Regions from separate parts of the Homo sapiens genome. Here all the other regions are linked to region 1. The links are contacts of gene promoters, found by promoter capture Hi-C in blood cells and fetal thymus (Javierre and others, 2016). All regions are on one chromosome and are shown on one strand. The core of a region is centred on a gene start or on the middle of the fragment in contact, and the rest is flanking DNA. Distances in the headings are between cores, read along the strand shown. Region 1 holds the start of EBPL (EBP like). Region 2 has its middle 76 kb from the start of C13orf42. Region 3 holds the start of NUDT15 (nudix hydrolase 15). Region 4 overlaps C13orf42 (chromosome 13 open reading frame 42). Region 5 has its middle 58 kb from the start of C13orf42. Region 6 has its middle 69 kb from the start of RNASEH2B-AS1. Region 7 has its middle 49 kb from the start of RNASEH2B-AS1.

Evidence for each region. Contacts are between HindIII fragments. The CHiCAGO score rates a contact against its expected background, and 5 or more counts as called.
Region 2: a fragment that was not itself captured here is called in contact with the fragment with the promoter of EBPL in region 1 in 1 of 17 cell types (total B cells); the score reaches 5.8 in total B cells.
Region 3: a contact is called between the fragment with the promoter of NUDT15 here and the fragment with the promoter of EBPL in region 1, in 6 of 17 cell types (total CD4 T cells, activated CD4 T cells, total B cells and 3 more). The highest score is 12.5, in total CD4 T cells.
Region 4: a fragment that was not itself captured here is called in contact with the fragment with the promoter of EBPL in region 1 in 1 of 17 cell types (naive B cells); the score reaches 5.1 in naive B cells.
Region 5: a contact is called between a fragment that was not itself captured here and the fragment with the promoter of EBPL in region 1, in 1 of 17 cell types (total B cells). The highest score is 7.8, in total B cells.
Region 6: a fragment that was not itself captured here is called in contact with the fragment with the promoter of EBPL in region 1 in 2 of 17 cell types (total B cells and naive B cells); the score reaches 7.7 in total B cells.
Region 7: a contact is called between a fragment that was not itself captured here and the fragment with the promoter of EBPL in region 1, in 1 of 17 cell types (naive B cells). The highest score is 6.6, in naive B cells.

The regions. Positions count from the first base shown.
Region 1 is chr13:49,690,219-49,692,945 of GRCh38, reverse strand. It overlaps EBPL (EBP like), which reads left to right and starts at 1,460. Exons shown (of 4, transcript NM_032565.5): 1 at 1,460-1,692. The coding sequence starts at 1,522. RefSeq lists silencers at 1,335-1,534, 1,565-1,704 and an enhancer at 1,168-2,165. The HindIII fragment of the contact is 12,052 bases long and covers 1-2,727 here.
Region 2 is chr13:51,033,793-51,036,492 of GRCh38, reverse strand. It overlaps the pseudogene GUCY1B2. Among named protein-coding and RNA genes, the nearest start is that of C13orf42, 76 kb to the left of the region's middle. The HindIII fragment of the contact is 1,327 bases long and covers 686-2,012 here.
Region 3 is chr13:48,036,351-48,039,050 of GRCh38, reverse strand. NUDT15 (nudix hydrolase 15) reads right to left here and starts at 1,325. Exons shown (of 3, transcript NM_018283.4): 1 at 1,147-1,325. The coding sequence starts at 1,304. It overlaps LOC124903172 (a long non-coding RNA gene), which reads left to right and starts at 1,059. Exons shown (of 2, transcript XR_007063788.1): 1 at 1,059-1,445. RefSeq lists enhancers at 829-988, 1,039-1,278, 445-1,320, 1,321-2,197. The HindIII fragment of the contact is 6,950 bases long and covers 1-2,360 here.
Region 4 is chr13:51,082,140-51,084,839 of GRCh38, reverse strand. C13orf42 (chromosome 13 open reading frame 42) reads left to right here. Exons shown (of 4, transcript NM_001351589.3): 4 at 515-2,700. The coding sequence ends at 689. Among named protein-coding and RNA genes, the nearest start is that of C13orf42, 28 kb to the left of the region's middle. The HindIII fragment of the contact is 535 bases long and covers 1,104-1,638 here.
Region 5 is chr13:51,051,857-51,054,556 of GRCh38, reverse strand. It overlaps the pseudogene GUCY1B2. Among named protein-coding and RNA genes, the nearest start is that of C13orf42, 58 kb to the left of the region's middle. The HindIII fragment of the contact is 286 bases long and covers 1,202-1,487 here.
Region 6 is chr13:50,977,944-50,980,643 of GRCh38, reverse strand. No RefSeq gene overlaps it. Among named protein-coding and RNA genes, the nearest start is that of RNASEH2B-AS1, 69 kb to the right of the region's middle. The HindIII fragment of the contact is 1,672 bases long and covers 420-2,091 here.
Region 7 is chr13:50,958,504-50,961,284 of GRCh38, reverse strand. It overlaps a transcript of RNASEH2B not described here. Among named protein-coding and RNA genes, the nearest start is that of RNASEH2B-AS1, 49 kb to the right of the region's middle. The HindIII fragment of the contact is 1,556 bases long and covers 735-2,290 here.

The DNA.
Region 1 (2,727 bases), core at 211-2,710:
ACTGGGGAAGAAGAGTTTTTATTTCTGCAACCGGTTACAGGGAGAAGGTCTGGAAATTATTGCCAGACCAACTCATAATTACAAAGTTTTTCCAGAGCGTATATACCTTCTAAGCTATATGTCTACGTGTAAGAGTGCATTCATCTAAAGACGTAAGTGATTAACAACTTCTAATCCTGAAGACCTTCCTCTGGAGCCTCAGTAAATTTACTTAATCTAAATAGGTCTGGGTGCTGGGATGATTACCCTTATTTTGTCTCTTGCTAAATCATGGAGGCTTGTGGAATTCCTCCAGACTCCCAATAAACTTGTTTTTGGAGGCCTGGGGAGTTTCTTCAGACCCCCAATAAAACTTGTTTAATCCTAAACGGGTCCTGTTAAAAATTCCTTAGTTATCTTGTCATGCTTCAAGGCCCAAGAAAGGCCTAGGCAAAACTCTTGGTGGGCTTTTGTTACATTCCAGACTTTGGTATATGGGCACTGACTCTTTCAGCTTTTAATTTTTTTTTTGTTTTTTGAGACGGAGTCTCGCTCTGTTGCCCAGGCTGGAGTGCAGTGGCGCGATCTCGGCTCACTGCAAGCTCCGCCTCCCGGGTTCACGCCATTCTCCTGCCTCAGCCTCCGGAGTAGCTGGGACTACAGGCGCCCGTCACCACGCCCGGCTAATTTTTTGTATTTTTAGTAGAGACGTGGTTTCGCCGTGTTAGCCAGGATGGTCTCGATTTCCTGACCTCGTGATCCGCCCGCCTTGGCAAAAAGTGCTGGGATTACAGGCGTGAGCCACCGCGCCCGGCCTCAGCTTTTAATATTTAATTTAACCACTCAGTGCTGAAGCAGTTGTGATGGAGGCCTGCGATAGTGAAACCTGGCCTGCCACAGGTTAAACGCATCTATCGCCAAGCCAATAGGACTTACCGCTCCTCTCACCCACCCTTCTACTTTTCTGGATTTTTAAGAAATGGAAAGATTGTCAGAGTAGGCCATAAAGGCTTTAAGCCGGCTGGTGGCTGAAAACTCCCTTGGCCCCCAGCCTCCCTGGTAAGGCTTGCTGCAGCCTAATTAAAACCTTTTGCCCCTAAAATTCTGCCCCGGTCTACTGGCAAAATTTCCACTACCTAGGCTTCACTTTGTGGCTTAAAGTTTGAGCCTTGTTAAAAGCGAAACAACATCAAAAGGTGTGGCCCTATTACCAATCCTTTGGGCTCGGTTTGGGAACAGGTTTGGTCGAGGCGGTTGCGCAAGTTGGTGAGCACGTTCCTTCTACGGAACCTCCATGGGCGGCACCTGGCAAAACCACCGGACTCAGCAGGCTGGCCAGGGTGCGAGGCGGGCACGGAATCCTCGCTCTGGCCCCGACCCGGCCGGGGAGCCCCGTCCCTCCCCGGACCGCCTTGGCCAATCAGCTCCGCTCCTCCTTGGCCATCCGGCTCCGCCCCTTCCCGGCCAGCCCCGCCCCGTCGTTTCTCTCCCTGCTTTCCTCTGCCGCATGGTCCTGGGCCGTTGGCGTCGGAAGCCTGAAGCATGGGCGCTGAGTGGGAGCTGGGGGCCGAGGCTGGCGGTTCGCTGCTGCTGTGCGCCGCGCTGCTGGCGGCGGGCTGCGCCCTGGGCCTGCGCCTGGGCCGCGGGCAGGGGGCGGCGGACCGCGGGGCGCTCATCTGGCTCTGCTACGACGCGCTGGTGCACTTCGCGCTGGTAAGTGCCATCGCCTAGACCCTGCACTCCCCATCCCAGAGAGTGGGAGCGGGGGCGGCAAGGCGGGGTGAGGGGGTCCTGCGGCTTTTTGCAGCGAGCTGGCCGCCCCTCCCCCTGCTGCAGGAAGTCTGTTAGCTGAGAGGCGCCTGGAGGCCGCGGCGGCCGGAGTTCTGATTCCCAGGTCTGTGAACAGAGCGCAGCTTACCTTGTGCTGCCGATTCCTCCACCAAACTTTAAAAAAATTCTGTACGTGCTATGTTAGTTTAGAAGATACCTCAGCTTCCTCGGCTTTGTAACCTGCACGTAACTGTTGAACTGGACATAATTGAGAGTAGAATTGAGGTCATTTTTAAATGCCCCAGAGGGGGCAAGGAGAGATGCTTGCTCCGGAGGCAGCAAGGCTATTGTCGCAAAACCCGAAGCCTTTGCCAAGACAAACGAAACACCCGTGTCTAATGTGTGCCAGGCGCATTACTGAGTTTAAAATTTCAGATCTTTACAGCATCCATAAATTAGTTATTATTGTTCCCCATTTTACAGAGGTGAAGGTAGGCGCTGCAAAATTAGGTGACTTTCCAGTGCCACACAGCTGGCATGATTCTGAGGCAGTCTAGTCTGGCTCCCAAGTTTGCACTCTGTGTATCAGTCGAGGTCTTAGGAAATATGTGTCCTTAGAGATTCAACCCATTTTATAAAATAGCCAGGAAGGTTGTGTTTAAGGCATTTATATTGAAATGCCCCGCCCCCCACCACACACGCGCACGCACACACACACACACACTTTTAAGTTTTTTTTAAACTATGCCCAAGTATCAGTTTGTTTTTTTTTTTTTTTGTAAAGTTGACCTTGTTTAACTCTAGACACACCTGTGGCTAATGTGAAGCCAAAGTCAGTAGTATTGAGAAAGCAAGCCGAGTTTTGGGTAATCATCGAGTTCTGTAAATGTTTACGGGTTGGCTTTGTGCCCATGACTGATGTTGCTGGAATTCTTTTTATTCTGATAATCAACATGTAGAGATAAGGGACAGTGAATG
Region 2 (2,700 bases), core at 100-2,599, 1.3 Mb before region 1:
AATTCTAGAAGAAGCTCCAAACCCATTACAGGTGGAAAACACCACACTCAAACCCAAGATCCTTGTTTGGGAAACAGTTCATCTCTCAGCCAGATGTCCTTTCCTTTTAACAGAGCTGGGCATCCACAAACAAAATAACCAGAGCCTGGAACAAACAGCTTCATGGATTTTTTAAGTTTAAAGATTTGAAAGTCAAACAGGCAGTCTTTTACCCAAAGCTGCCACTCTTACTTGAATATAACTTTGCTTGGCTTACACGCAGCCCAGTCCTCCTGGCAGAGGTTCTTGGGAGAAGGGGGGCCGCTGGGACCCCTGCTTTTCCTGGCAGGTAACAGGATGCACCTGCTCAGAGCTCCAGCCTCCAGGATGCACAGCACAGCTGTTTTTTCTTAGTCTGAATAAGCTAGATCAGAGGTAACAGAGGGATGGAAGCAGGAGAGCAGAAGGACAATTTCCCATCTGTCTGTTTACCTTTTAGCAGTCCCCCTCCCAGAGACTCAAGCACTGGAAAGGAACTTGGTAGAATTTGTCTCAGATCCCCTAGGGGTTAGCAGGTGGTCCTTGAATTTATACCAGTGTATAGACAAGCCTGCCTGAGGCCGGCCAGGATGCACCCACAAGCAAAGAAGCCAACGGAGGCAATTAACACAGGCCATTACCACTGGCTTCTCTACCATCCCAAGCTTCGTCTAGATTGAGATCCGACTAATCAATTTTTGGAAAATATGTATAACTCATCTTGGAAAATATGTACAACTCATCTCTGACAAAACTAGACCAATTCAGTGGGGACTCTATCCTGCTCAGATTACAGAACAATTATCTGCCCCATGGTCTGGCTGTGGACTATGAGCTGTAGGGAAACTGCTCTTCAGACCATCCTAGGAAGCAAGCAGGGGCTGGAGAGTGCCCAGACCTCCTTCGTCTGTCCTCTGTAGGATTTAGCCCTGGATAGCTCATGAGACCTGGAATGTCCCTTGCTGTGAATTCCAAATCCAGCCAGAGCATCACAGAGTTTTTCAAGGATGCAACCACAGATACTGGTGATGGTGAGCTCTTCAGGCCTTCCATAAACCTGGGCATTACAGACATTTGCCCCAGCCCCCAGGACTTACATGTGTCACAGCCCCATTGTAAATAAGAGGGTGTTTCTCACAGGATCTCCAGACCAGCAGCATGGATGGATGCCCTGTCTCCTGTGTCAATGATGCCAACGCATAAGCAGCGCTTCCCTTGGGGAGACTCCTTGCTTCTCTCATTGCTGCTTCAGAGGCTGGGGGATGTGGTATAAAAAGTGCTAAACTTAGAGTTGGAGCCTCTTCAACAAATCTGGCCTCTGCAACTCTATGTGACTGCAGTCAATTCACAAAGATGACTCAGCCCCAACAGGCTCAGCTGTAAAAAGGACATGATAATAAGGTTAGCTACCTTATAAGAGCTGGGCAAACATTGAGTAACAGAACAGTAATTAATGTGTGTTGTCAGAACTATAAAACATTCTTTTAAAATGTTTGCTGTCTTTCCCATAAAGTGGACACTTGCTTACTGTCTATTCCAACAGTGTAGACTGGGGAGCGGGGAGGTGGGCAGCAGCTCCAACTAATGCCGCAAATCTACCTCCAGGTGTTCATCAGGCACCTATGCTGTGTTTAGCACAGAAAACGTGTAGGATCGGGTTGCTTCTCTCCAGAATTACCATGAATTAGGAAGAAAAAAAAATGCAACACTTAGGAAGAGAGAATTCAGAGAAATCTTTATGGAGAATGGAACAGGAACACTGGGCCTCACAGGGAGGTCAGGAGAGAAAGGGAAAGACACTGCAAGTATTTGGTATCATCTTTTTGGTAAATCAGGATCCTGTAGCCTTGAAGGCATAGTTTTTTCATTGTGTATTAGTTATTTCTCAGAGGCATCCTTGTATTCTTGTTAGAGACTGACTGTTACATTTAAAGATGTGGGAGGTGTTGGCAGTGTTCGTGGAGGGTCGCGCCCTCCCCACCCAGAGTGAAGCTTGTTCTGGGCACTGGCTTCAGCAGCTAAGCGGGTACAGCATCTCTGCATCCCCTTCTCGACTTTGAGGAAGTATTTGTCAAGGAGACTTATGTTTCACAAGCACCTACTCAGTGCCAGGCTGCACGGGGCTCCTCCCAAGGGCCCATGACATCAATGTGGTTATTGGCATTTTACCGAGGAGGCAAGTGACGGCTTAGAGAGTAGCTCGATAGTGTCACACAGCCAGGATGTGAACCCTTTGGAAATAAATGAAGACCACACAAAGGACAACACACACCTCCAGGAGATTTTATTTAGGGGGTATGCTTTGGTTTCTACAGGTGTCTCCATGGAAGCCATCCTGAAACTCTTTGGAGAATACTTTCAATTCTGAAGATGTCTGGCTATGACAGGATGCTACGGACACTGGGAGGAAATCTCATGGAGTTTATTGAAAACCTGGATGCCCTCCACAGTTACCTGGCACTCTCTTATCAGGTAAGGCCACTTGAGTCTGGTCTTGGCTGCCCAAGAGGAAGCAAATGCTGTGGCAGTCCTGGGCCAGCTCCCCGCCTCCCCCAACAGAGGCACGGTTGCAGGAGAACCCTCCCATCTGCAGAATCCTTGGTACCTGGTGTTGGTGGGCTCAGGAGTTCTTTTTGGAAGAGAATGAAAAAGAAACACCTGCTGGCCACTTTTATAAACTGG
Region 3 (2,700 bases), core at 76-2,575, 1.7 Mb after region 1:
AGAGGACACCAATGGATGGATCAGAGCAGCATCAGTCACCTGAATGGCTTGCTCTCTCTCCTCCTCCAACACACTGGAGAAAGAAGGAAACTCAGAGACAGCCAGGTGAGAAGAGGAGGAGGATACAGAAAAGCAGAACAATGGCTCACACCTCCTTTATGCACTGCAGGGGAGGGATTAGAAACTGGAAGTGACACTGAAGGTTTAAATTGGATTGGACTTTTAAATGCTTGGAAGTGAATCATACTGACCCAAATGTGATTTATTTTTATAACCAAGTGACAAGAAAACTATAGAATTTGCAGGAAACGTCACTGAAGAGGGAAAGAAAAAATCATGTTTGAAGGCAGTGGAAGGAGAAAATAAAACCATTTCCTGTTTGTTCTCCCATCAAATTTAGCCCACTGAGTATGCCAGTTATGTAAAGATCAAATGAAAGTATACATGCAAAGAGCTTGGCATATTATCCAGCCTTTAACAAAAAGCCCATTAGAGCTCAATGTTGGCTATGGTCATTGACCTCACGGGTGGATCACCTGAGGTCAGGAGTTCGAGACCAGCCTGGCCAACATGGCGAAACCCCGTCTCTACTAAAAATACAAAAATTAGCACGGCGTGGTAGCGGGCGCCTGTAATCCCAGCTACCAGGAGGCTGAGACACAAAAATCGCTTGAACCCAGGAGGCGGAGGTTGCAGTGACTGGAGATAGCACCACTGCACTCTGGCCTGGGCTACAGAGCGAGACACAGTCTCAAATCAATCAATCGATCAATCAATCAATCACATGGAAACGGTGCAATGTCTTAGCTGACAATATCGGGCTGCTGGAGGTTTACACACACCTGCTTTCCTCCTTTTGTGTGTAAGCTGTGAGAAACACACCTCACAGACGAACTCCCAACCACCACCCAGCAGGGGCGCAGCCGGAAAGACCCAGCTAGCAAAGACCTCGCCTGACCCAGCACAGCGCCCCCTCCTGGGCGCGATCCTACGTCGCCCAGAAGTCGAGGGGAGGAACCGAGGGAACGCGCAAGAAAGGACGCAGCGTCAGCGCGGACGTTCTCACGCACGGCACACGGAAGCAAGCACGGCGTGAGTTCGTCCCTCTGCGCACGCCCCGGTTTCCTCGCGTCCGCGGCTGCTCACCCGAACTCCAGATGACCTCCAGGGAGTTGGAAACTGCCAGCTCCAACCGAGCCTTTCCTCTTCCCCAGGAGGACGCAACGCGGATGCTTGCAGCTGGTCACCACGACTCCGACTCCGACTCCTGGCCGCCGCCCGCGCGGCTGTGCGCTGGCCGTCATAGCGCGCGGGAGGACGCGCCTGGCAGCGGCAGGAAGTGACGCGCTCACTACCCCGTCCCGCGGCCGCAGCCAATCTCTCCCCGCGAGGGCGGAGGCGCCGAAATCAAAGCGAGAGCGCCTCGGCCTCTCCAGCTGTCCGCGGTGCGTAATGCGTCGCGGAGGGCTATCAGGTTGGGGAATGCCGTGTTTCCTTCCGAAGGGCAGCGTGCCTTAGAGTTTCGCTGTAACTAAAGTCGCTTACAGTTGTGCTTTGAATATTCATCACCCGTCAGCCTATCCACTCCCAGATTCCTGCAAACCATGCATTTACATGTACAAGCCGCCTGCTCTTACCAACCTCGGCACCACTGCACATTCTTTTTTCCGTGAATGACCTCGCCCACCATGGTGCACCCATTTGCCCTGTAGCTCAAATCAGCGTGGTACCAGGATAAGGATAGGTCGTTTAGAAACATCCCATTATAAACAACTATGCTTAAGGTATATTCATAAGTCATGGGAGGAAATAAAGGCTAATTGATAAATCATGCTGGGAAGAGTTAGTTACAAACAGTGGAAAACAGACATTTTCAGATGTTTGCACACCATGCACCATGCAAAATACAAACCAGCTGAATCATAAAAACAAATGACTAGTTACTGGGAGGGTTTTCTCTCTTTCTCATTATTTTTACTTCTACCAAAGTAATGTGCACATACTGGTAATTTTATTTTATTTTAATTTTCACCAAGCTAGCTAATTTTCTTTCTTTTTTTTTTTTTTGTGGAGGTGGGCTGTCGGTCTTTTGTCGAGGCTGATCTCCAACTCCTGTCCTCAAGCAGTCCTTCCACTTGGGCCTACCAGAGTGCTGGGATAACAGGCGTGAACCACTGCGCCTGACCTATAGCTATAATTTTAAGAAGTAAAATGGTGCAAAAACCGCAACAAGAGCAACCTGACCCTCCTACTTTCAGAAACAATCACTTTTAACTCTTTGAACTGTATTTCTGATATTTGCCTACTTATTTCTAAGTAATATGCTTACTCTCCATGTTATACTAAATGGGTATTAAGCTTTTCACAGCATCTCTCCTCACTATCAACATTCACATTCATTACAAAGGTACTTACAATATCTTCTCAAAAAATGGTAGTATATAAAAAGGATAATATATTGAACAATGAGATTAATCCCAGAAATACTAGGTTGGCTTAATATTTGAAAAGCCAATGTAATTCAGCATATTAACAGAGGGAGAAAGGAAATACATATAATCATCTCAATAGATGCAGAAAAAAATTAATAAAATCCGATACTCAGTTGTGATTAAAAAAACTCCACAAAATCTCTGAGCAAACTAGAAATAAAATGAAACTTTAACATGATATATGGCATCTACAAAGACCTACAGCTAA
Region 4 (2,700 bases), core at 122-2,621, 1.4 Mb before region 1:
CATCTCCTCTGGCCTGTCTCCTTTTAGATCCTCCTCCCCCAGGCCTAGTTACCATCACTAACCGTCAAATTCCTGTTATCCACTCGCTCAGAGCAGTAAGCTCTTTCTGGGTTTGGGCAACCCAGGCCATGCTGCAGGGCCTTGCCTGTCACAACGGAAGGGCCTGTCAAGCCTCATCAGCTGTCTTCCTTTGCTTCTACAAAAGCCACTAAACCCTGTTGGATTTAGGGGCTTTCTAGATAGCATTTCCCTTCCACAGTAACAGACCATGCACTGGACATATTAAAATCACAACCCAGCCCTCACCACCCGTCCTTCCCCTTCAAGGCCAGGCCAAGGTCCAGCTGAGGTCCACCCATGGCCCCCATGGCGACACCATTTGGTCCTCCCCAAGACCCAGGACTAGGGCAGCAATCTGAGGGTCTCCATGAGAATGGTGGTCATTGAGCATCCCTTCCCTCTGTGTGGCCGGCCAAGCCGAACTTAAACCTCCTGCCTCATTCCTTCCTTCTAGCCTGGGGAGCTCCAGACAGATCCTTTTCAACTTCTCAGGAGAAGATATGGAGTGGGATGCAGAGCTCTTTGCGTTGGAGCCCCAGTTGTCTCCTGGGGAGGACTACTATGAGACAGAGAACCCCAAAGGACAGTGGCTGCTTCGAGAAAGACTTTGGGAGCGGACGGTGCCCTGACTCCATCTGGATTCCTTGACGTGTCTCAGACTGGGTCCCTGAGAAGCTGTCCGCTTTCAGCGCAGCATGAGGTATTTGGTAGAGTTGAAAATGCCAATTGTAACACAGTCAACCCACTCAGCACACTGCCTGCTGGTGCCGTGCCAGTGCCAAACAGACCTGTGGCTTCCCAGGGGACAGGTCTCAGGACACTCTCAGAGCTTGAGTTTCTCTGCGTGGGCTGATGACCAGGGACTTACAGCCTGGCTGGTCTTCAAGAGCTGAAGGAATGGAAGGTCTTGAGTGGAGTGTCTGGGCTCACTCCCCTGACCTCACCTGGCCTGGTCCTCATTCTCCACGTGTCTGTCCAGGTGGCTGCTAGCAATGTGCTCAGTACCAGAAATGAACTCACCTGTAGATTTCTGGGCCAAAGCTTCAAAGAGGTAGCTCCTCTTTCTATGAGGCTCAGAGACATGCTGGATCTGCACTGAGGTTGCCGTCTTGTGTGCAGAATGCAGTTGAGAAAGCAGCTCCTTTTGCTCTCTTTTCAGAGTTTTCCAGAAACTCCTGCTGCATTAAGCTAAGATGAGGCTAATGCCCTGGCAATGGGGTGAGGGAAGGGGTATGTCACGAGCCTGCCTGGGGGCCACACTGTTTCCTCAGGCCCCAAAACTCAGCTCCCCTTCACATAGGCAATTGACAAGAGAAGAAGGGAGATGGGGTGATTCTTTTCTTTTTCTTCTAATTCTTACCCAGAAAAATCTTTTTAAATATCCATGGAACCAGTTTATGACAGGCCACACCTTTCCCTTTCCCCAGTTAAGAGAACAATCAGAATCATTACGTTCTTTTGGTATAGAAAGGATTTCTGTATTTTAGGAACTATCTGAATCAGAATTACATTTAAAATATATTCTTTGTATTTCTAAATACTTTTTACATTTTTGCAATAGTTGTACCCATTCAAGCTTGAGAACCACTGGTTTGGAGAATATACTGAAATTTATCTATTCTCACTTCTTTTTTTGGCATTTTCTTGTAAACCAGTCTGTGCATGTATAAGGGTCTTTGGGCAGAAGGAAGGGAGAGAGACAAAAAACAGAAAACAAAACAAAACAAAGAAAACCACAATCATTTGAATTAAGCCAAGGATGTTCTAGGCTAAGGTCAGGCTAAGAACTGAACAGAGGCTTCCTTTCTGCCATGCCTGTGGGATGATATTCTTATTGTTCCATTTTTTAGGAAGAACCTTTTGTTTATGTGAACCTGATCATATGAATCTAAGAATATGTAACTCTTACAAATAAAAAACAGCTAGTAATTATATTGCATTCTTAGAAATTTTATCTCAACATGTTTTCAGAATGAAACCATACTAGAAATGTTTTAATACCTCTCTTTATTATTTTTCGAGTGCCAATGTCAATGTTTGGAAAGTTTCTTTCATTTTGTTGCTTGTACTAACCCAGCTATAGCCAGAAGCTTGACTGGAAAGTAAATGTTTAGGAGATTTGTTTTATAAACTGCATTAAAGCACTGCCATTTATCACCACAGATCTTTTATTTTCCCTAAATGTGGCCTTGTTTGAAGCCTCATCTATAAAAGTTCATTGTTGGGGATAAACTCAGGATAAAGGTGTCTTTACTCTGCCTCTTATCAAACTACAGTTTATCATAGATCCACCCTGAAATTATGTGGTGAAGATACTGTGTACATTTTGTTTTTAAAGATAAGAAAAAATAAACATGACTGCGAGGATGTTTGGAGTCCTGATTTTTTAAAAAGCATTTATTGCTTATGGCACATGAAGCTGTGCCGTCTTATTTTGCTTTGTTTTGTATGTTTTTTGTCTTTCATGAGACTATACACAGCCTGAAAAATTCCATGATTGGGAAACAGAAGGTTGTCTTGTCTTTGGGGATCATTTTTAGGTGTTTGAAGTTGGTGATAAACCCAAGGATCTGTGCTCTGCCTGGGGAATCTTGAGATGGTGTCTGGTGGGGTTTGAGATAAATGAAATCTGAAACAATA
Region 5 (2,700 bases), core at 95-2,594, 1.4 Mb before region 1:
CTTTAAAAAGAATATAATTACCAATAAAAATTTAGCTACAAAAATAAGTACTCTTCTTAGAATTAAGGAAGAAAACTTTAAAGCTGACAGATAACATAAACATCAAAAGCTGGAAACATGTTTTTATTGTTAGTATCATAAATTAACTAACCCTCTTTTATAATACTTTCCTGCATCTTTGGCTGTATTTTGCTTTTTCTGTTCATTGGACAATGATTTTATAATGTCATTTTCTATAAAGAGGATAGAATGAATATTCTAGCATGGCTGGCTGAAAATTGTATTTATTGTATTTTGTTTTCATTGTTAGCTTAGACAAATTTCTTTATGCACATCCATAACTTTCTCAGCAGTTTCTTGCTGAAGTGTGCTTCTTTCATGTTGGCAAGTCCTGGGAAAACTCCAGCGTTTGATCTCCCTCGACCTGTTCCACCCATCTCCCCTACTTTTACGCAAGTCCTCTTGGACCAGGCGGTCCCCACTGGGAATGCGCAGCCTCTCTTTCAGATGCCTTTTTGGGGGTTAGAGTAGAGTCTGGATGTGTGTTGAGTCTACCAGAAGCAAGTGGTCCTGAGGACTGGGTGGTCTGCAGCCCCACCCACAGGCATCCAGGACCACTACCAGGGCATATAAGGTGACCCCTCAGGCTGGGGATGGCTTCAAGCTAGAGGGGGCCAGGTGAGGCTGCTTCCTCCCTGTCCTGGAAACCTCAGCTTCATTAGCTTCCAAAGCAAACCTGAAGCACTCTTGATTTAAATCAGAAGTTCTTAAACACTTTGGTATTCAGAAGCCTTTATACTCTCATAAATTATTGAAGACCCCACAGAGCTTTTGTTTAATCTATGGGTATTTATGGTATTAGAAATTAAAACAAATTAAAAAAACATTTTTAAATTTATCTAAAATAATTATATGTTATATAATTATGCTGTAATACATAATAGTACATGTTAGTGTAACATTTTTATGATAACTATATTATTCAAATAAATTAATGACAAGATGGCATTACTTTACAGTTCTGGAAATCTCTTTTAATATCTGACTTAATGGAAGTAATGGAAGTGGGATTCCATCTTCCGCAATGTATGTATTCTGTGATATGATTTTGGTTGAAACTTGTGAAGAAAATATGGAAGGAAGAAGAATTTAATACTCTTCTCAGATAATTGTGGCTATTCTTTTAAACCTCACAAAAGCTTGACAAATCGTATTTTCTCAAAGGTCAGTTATAATGTTGAATCTGTAACTGTACTGATGACCTTCTTCGTACTCTGTTATATTAAAATCTCTTGATCTGTGTTACACTTGGATAGAAATTTTTTCGCATCATTTTGTACTAGCTTGCATGAGTTATTTGGAAACTATTAGCTCACTGACTTGTGCTAATCTTACAAATGTTGACATGTTTCACTATACAATATCAAAATTGCATTTGTCAATATCATCATCACCTTAGCCTCTAAGGATTGGGATGCTAATAAGCTTACAGTATAAGATGCAACTTTTTTCCCCAAACTTGAGTTTTGTCATTGGCAACACATTCTGCCAGTTATTTTCCTTGAAGTGACAGGCTAACTTTGTTATTTTCTTAAGAGAATGTGTGCCAAATATCCAAGTCTGAGTAACCATAGTTCGTCTGTCAGTGGTTTTTTAAGTGGAAATGATGTTCCATTAAAAAAAGTGGCTAATTCATCTCATAACTCAATCGTGTAAGTACTTTTCCTGGAAGTGACCATTCACACTCCTGCATATAGGAGAAGTACTTTATTTGAGTGCGTACTTCCCATTCTGTTACACAAAATATTCAAAAGATGTATACTCAGGGTCAAGATTTCATAACATTAGTAATTTTTACTACCTCAAAATGAACAACCTAAAGTAAAACTGGCATTTTTTTTTACTGCACATATGTGACAATGAGGGATATGATGACTATAAATAATATACTGAAGATTTAAAAAAAGAATATAATAGTTTTGTGCCACTGTCTTGATTCATGCTATAAGGCACCAAATTTTACTCACCAATGCTTATGTGCCATTAGTGCAAATATGAATCAGTACAAAAGGCAAATAATGTCTTAATTTGGTTTTGAAAATAGTTTGGCCTCATGGATTCCTAAAAACACCTTAGGTATTCGCAGGGGTTCCATGGGTCATACTTTGAGAACTGCTGGCTTAAATGCCTTAAGCATCCTTCTAAGTGAATCAGAGGTCAAGGAAGGAGACATCATTGGTGGCTGAGGGAGAGAAGGGGAGGACCAGACATGACAGTCTTCATGACAATGACCTAGTTGAATACTATCTTTGTAAAAATGAAGAAATGGAGGCACAGTGAGATTTGCTCCAAGTCATCCAGCTAGATGGTGGTAGAGCCAGGGTTAACTCCTAGGTCTCCTCCTGACACACAGAGTCTGTGAGCCTCTGTCAAGTTAGGTCTCTCACCGAAATTATCTTACAATTATTTATTGAGTACTTGTTGTGTGCCAGGTACAGGGCTAGGTATTGAAGATATTAAATCAAATGACATTGTCATGATCCTTCAACTTGGTAGTCTAGGAAGCATGCAGATGGGCAAATCAATTCCACTCGCAGTTAGCACGAAGACAGGTGATACAGAGAGCACGGGGGGCTCAGAGCAGGGACGCCCGGATCTGCAAGTGGCTGAGAATGTCCAGAATCGGGATTCTGACACTGA
Region 6 (2,700 bases), core at 6-2,505, 1.3 Mb before region 1:
AAGTACACATCTATTCCTATTTCACTGAATTATTTTGAGATCAATAATGGCAGTTGAATTTTACTAGGTATCTTTTTTTTTTTTTTAATATAGGAAGGGGTTTAATTGACTCACAGTTCCACAGGGCTAGGGAGGCCTCAGGAAACTTACAATCATGATGGAAGGGGAAGCAAACACATCCTTCTTCACATGGCGACAAGAAGAAGTGCTACCAAGTATCTTTTAAGTATCTAAGGAGATTAATAATACCTTATTTCTTTCTTAGATAACTAATATGGTAAGACTTCTTAATATTGAACCATCTTTATATTATGAATAAACCCCAATTTGTCACATTGTATTATTCTTTTAATGAATTGTTTGAGTCTATTTGGTAATATTTTATTTAATATTTTTGCATTAATATTTACAAGTAAGCTTGTTTTTTTGAACTCTACAATCACCAGGTTTTAAAAAATCAGTATTTTGCTCACCTTTTTGTCCTGTTTAATAAATCTTTCCTGTACCCAAATCAATTTCATTTTGCTTGGTTTTCTTATTTTTAACCTCTGAGCTCTTGTGCTATTATTATTGTCTATCTTCCTTCAAACACATCTTTGTTTCTTTGATGGTTTACATTTTCCCCCATGCCTACCCTGTAGTGCGCCAGCTCAAACAACATCACTTGTCTTTCTGTGACTTCCATGATTCTTCCCTCTCTACTTTGTGCCCAAACTTCATAGAGGTAATTGTTTAAGTATTTTATGTTTGTAGTAAAATGCTTTTTACTATTTTTATCTGCTCTTTGGCAACACTTTATCTGCCATTTACTTTTTCTGGTCTTTTTTTTTCTTGTTTTATGTTTCATATCTTTGAAATAACTTGGGTTTGTTCTTTTTGGTTTCTCATCTTTGAGGCACAAGAGTTTTCCTTGGGCCAAATATTTACAGGGCCTCATCCCAGCCTAGTAGGAATTTTCTTTATAAACCAGGGTTTTGCATGCAAGTTTTAGTTCTATTTCTCCCTGATCAATAAAGACAGGTAGCTATGGGGATTTTTAAAAAGCAACGTCTCTCTTCTTTCCCTCTGCCACTGAGATAGATAGTTCCTGCAAATGTGATGTGGATGTGTGATTTTTTTTTTTTTAACTCCATCACCTCTTCATTTCACAACTAAATTGGGTCTTGGAGAGTTCTTGCTGTTCTGGTGTGTATACTGGTTCCTTCTGTCATAAACATGTGACTTAGACTTTATTCCTCACCTCTGCCCTCTCTGTTTACAAATGTATTTTTGCTGACTCAGTCTCATTTCCACAGCCATGAACTCTTCCTTCCTCTTTCTCCTGGAAGCTCCCCTGCTTTTTGCAGTCCTTCCATCTATTTGTTGTTCATAGTTTAAAATACCTCCTAGTTTTGCTGAAAATTGATTTTTTGGTTTCCATTTCTTATTTTCCTTTTGCTTTGGATGATTTCAAAGAAGAGATTGGGGGTGGGAGGTGGGGATAGAGGATGAACTTCCCACCTCCATCTTCAAATCAGAAACATTAGTATTTCAAAACTTTAGTGTGAGTAAAGGGTAAAAGGCAGCTATTTCTGAAAATCTTTTAAAGAAAAACAATATGGGATTCACTTTATAGAGCACATAGACATTGAAGCCTCAAGGTGGATTTAAAGCATTCGGGGTATTTTCTTAGCTTATCACTTGGGAAAGTCATCTAATCTTTCTAGGCCCCATTTTTCCAATGAAGGGGTTTGACAAGAAGATTCCTAGAGCCTGAAGACAGAACAGACTAGCCTTGAAGCCCAGTGTTCTCTCCTAGAGAAATATACAGAAGCATGCAAGCCTGTCCTGCCTGAGATTCATGGGCTGGTTACACTCCAGCCACCGCTGCCTCTGTCACCCTGCCTTCTACTCTAGCTCCATGGCAAATATTTAAAAACCAGACCTTTTCATAGGCATCATACTGATTTAGTCTCTAATCATGAATCCAACCAAAATATCTGGATCCTCTCTGCCATCAGTCCATGGTGACCAGATCTGGGCTGTGTTAGGGGTCATTGCATTCAGCCTGTACTCTGGAAATTACACTCCCAACATTCATTTACTAAAGCTTTAACAAAATTATTCAGACAAACTATCCATTTAAAAAGTAGACTGAGTAGTTATCTTTGAAGACCCAAGGAATCTTTACCCAAGATTAATAAGAAAAAACAAACTGAAAAAAAAACTGGTGATTTTGTTCACATTAAAAAAAAAATGCTGCATGTTAACCATCTGTCATGGTTTACTAATTAAATCACTGCAACTAATCTTGTATTAATATTTTTTTAAAGTTAAAAATGGGTTTCCTGAAAATGCTTAGAATTTCTGTGGAATTGCTTAGAAAGTCTTTTTACTTTTTGAACTTCCTTGGCCTTATAAAACTGTCAGCAGAGCAAAGTAAGGGCCAGTTTTCTGCAGCCATAACTCCCCCATCTCTTTTACAAGTCTTTATTCTTCGGAAATATAAAGGGTTGTGTTGAAAAGCATTAACTGGGGGCCGGGCGCGGTGGCTCACGCCTGTAATCCCAGCACTTTGGGAGGCCGAGGCGGGTGGATCATGAGGTCAGGAGATCGAGACCATCCTGGCTAACAAGGTGAAACCCCGTCTCTACTAAAAATACAAAAAATTAGCCGGGCGCGGTGGCGGGCGCCTGTAGTCCCAGCTACTCGGGAGGCTGA
Region 7 (2,781 bases), core at 263-2,762, 1.3 Mb before region 1:
ATCAGATCCTAAAAATAGTGGGCAAACATCCGATAAGAAATAGGATACTTACAAAGTCCCAGAATACTTACCCACAAATTACTTATTAATTATAAAAATAATCAACAATAATTCACAATGAAAACTGTAGGCAGCACCTTAATCAAGTGATCAAAGTCAACAACACTGATATTGGGATAGACTGTGATTCCTGCCATGGTGTACTGAGAAAGACATATTACTCCTGGAGGTGCCCTAAGAGTATGACTTGAATTTAATCAAAAAGAAATATTAGAATAAGAAATATTCCAGCAAATATTTACCCTGTACTCAAAAATGTCAAGTAAGACAAAGAACAGATGAGAAACTCTTGCAGATTAAAGAAAACTATAACAACAAAAAGGCTCCAGTGCTAGATAGTTTTACCTCTAAGATTCTTAAACATTTTCCAGCAATAGAATATAATAATGCAAAATGAATCCTTCCAGAACATTGGAAAAAATGGAAAGCTAGCCTAATTCTAACGCTAAAGCCTAACAGCAGCATTGCTTATGAATATGTCTGCAAAATTCCTTAATAAAAGTGTAGAAAGTCTAATTGAAAACTATATTTGACAAAGGTTAAGAAAGATAGGATGTATCCATTATGCTATTGATCCTTTATCTACTGCCAGGGTGAGTTTATTAGACATTTGGGTACAGTTTGATAGTAAGTAGTAAAAACTTTATAGACACCTCAATAGATGCCAAAAAGCTTTCTGATAACAACCAACACCAATTATTAATTTAAACCTTAAGGAAACTAAGTATAAAAGGATGGATAGTCTTTATCATATTAGCAACAGCTAGTGTCAGAATTAATGGTAAAGCACATCAATAAAATCACCAATTAGACAAAGACGGCTATTATTACTCTTTAATACTGTTCTGGATATTCTAGCCCATGTAATATAATGTAAAATATATAATAAAAGAGGTGTAACTATTAGAAAGAATTGCATGCAATTTTTAAAAACTAAATTACATACTATATTATGTACTAAAACCCAAAATAAATAAAATGGAAAATTTTTCCATTAATAGTTTAGTAAACTGGTTATTTAAAAGATAAATATATAAAAATATAAAACTTTACCACAAAATGACCAGTTGGTAGACCTAGCTGGAAAAAAACAGATTTCATTAATAGCAATGAAAATATCTACACATACTCATACAAAGATATGTCTAGAACCTATTGAAGATGAAGAACCGAACATTAGTGAAAGGTATTCTTAAGACTTGAGTAACTAAAAAGAAATACTATATTCCCAAATAAGAATATTTAAGTTTGTAAAGATGTTTGTTTTCCCAAAGTAAGTTATGCATCTAACAAAATCTCAGTAAAAATCCCATTGGAACTTACTCTTAGAACTTGACAAAATAATCCTACAGATTAAATGAAAAACTAAACTGGTGAGAAAATAATTAAATTACAGCTTTACCTCACAGCATATTTAAACATAATTACACATTCTCTAGATGATTTAAGTAATTAAATATAAAACAAAAATAGGCCAGGCGTGGTGGCTCACGCCTGTAATCCCAGCACTTTGGGAGGCCAAGGCGGATGGATCACCTGAGGTTGGGAGTTCAAGACTAGCCTGACCAACATGGAGAAACCCCGTCTCTACTAAAAATACAAAATTAGCTGGGCGTGGTGGCACATGCCTGTAATCTCAGCTACTCGGGAGGCTGAGGCAGGAGAATCACTTGAACCCTGAAGGCGGAGGTTGTGGTGAGCTGAGATCACGCCATTGTACTCCAGCCTGGGCAACAAGAGCGAAACTCCATCTAAAAAAAAAACAAAAAAGAACCAAAAACATAACTATTAAAAAAATCAGAAGAAAATAAAAGTGTCTGGTTAAATTTCCTGTAAAATGAAATATCTTTCTAAGTACAATATCTGTGTAAAGGAAAAGTTTATGTATATATGTCTACATAAAAACTAAAAACACCTGCATGTCAAAAATCATAGGCAAAATTAAAGGCAAAGTATAAACCAAGAAAGGAAATTTACAACAAACACAGTAGAAATAATTAATGTCCTTAAGTTATAGAATACTTTTAGTCAATAAGAAAAATATTGATACTCTAATAATTTAGCAAAGAATATAAAAGACAATTCTCTATAAGATGACAATTGATTAGTAAGTATGAAAAAATGTTCAAAATCACTACTAATCAGGGAAATATGAATTAAAACCACAATAAAATGTTTTTACACTTATTTCCAAAGGTAACAACCAATGCTAACAAGGTGGCATTAAGCTTTCACACCCACTGTTTGTTAGAGTGCAAGACCATTAAAATAAGCCTAGAGTGCAAAAGCTTATAAACTTTCCATGAAATATATTCCCATAAATATATATTTGAAAATCCAATAAGCCCACATCCAAAAATCCATTATAAGGAAACAATAAAATATGTGGACAAATATTTACTTATAATCTGATTCTTCAAATAGTGAACATTTGTGAATAATCCAAATGTCCAAACAGGATCATGGTTATTAAATAATCAAATATCCAAATAATCAAAAATTATACTGTCATTAAAAAACATATTTATGAAGAACAGTTAGTAGTCTGGGAAAATAGTAACAAAATAATGTTTATAAAAAGGTAACTACTGTGATTTTTCACAGAATTAGAAAATAACTATTCTAAAATTCATATGGAACCAAAAAAAAGCTTGGATAGCCAAAGCAATCCTAAGCAAAAAGAACAAAGCCAGAGGTATCACATTACCCAACTGCAAACTA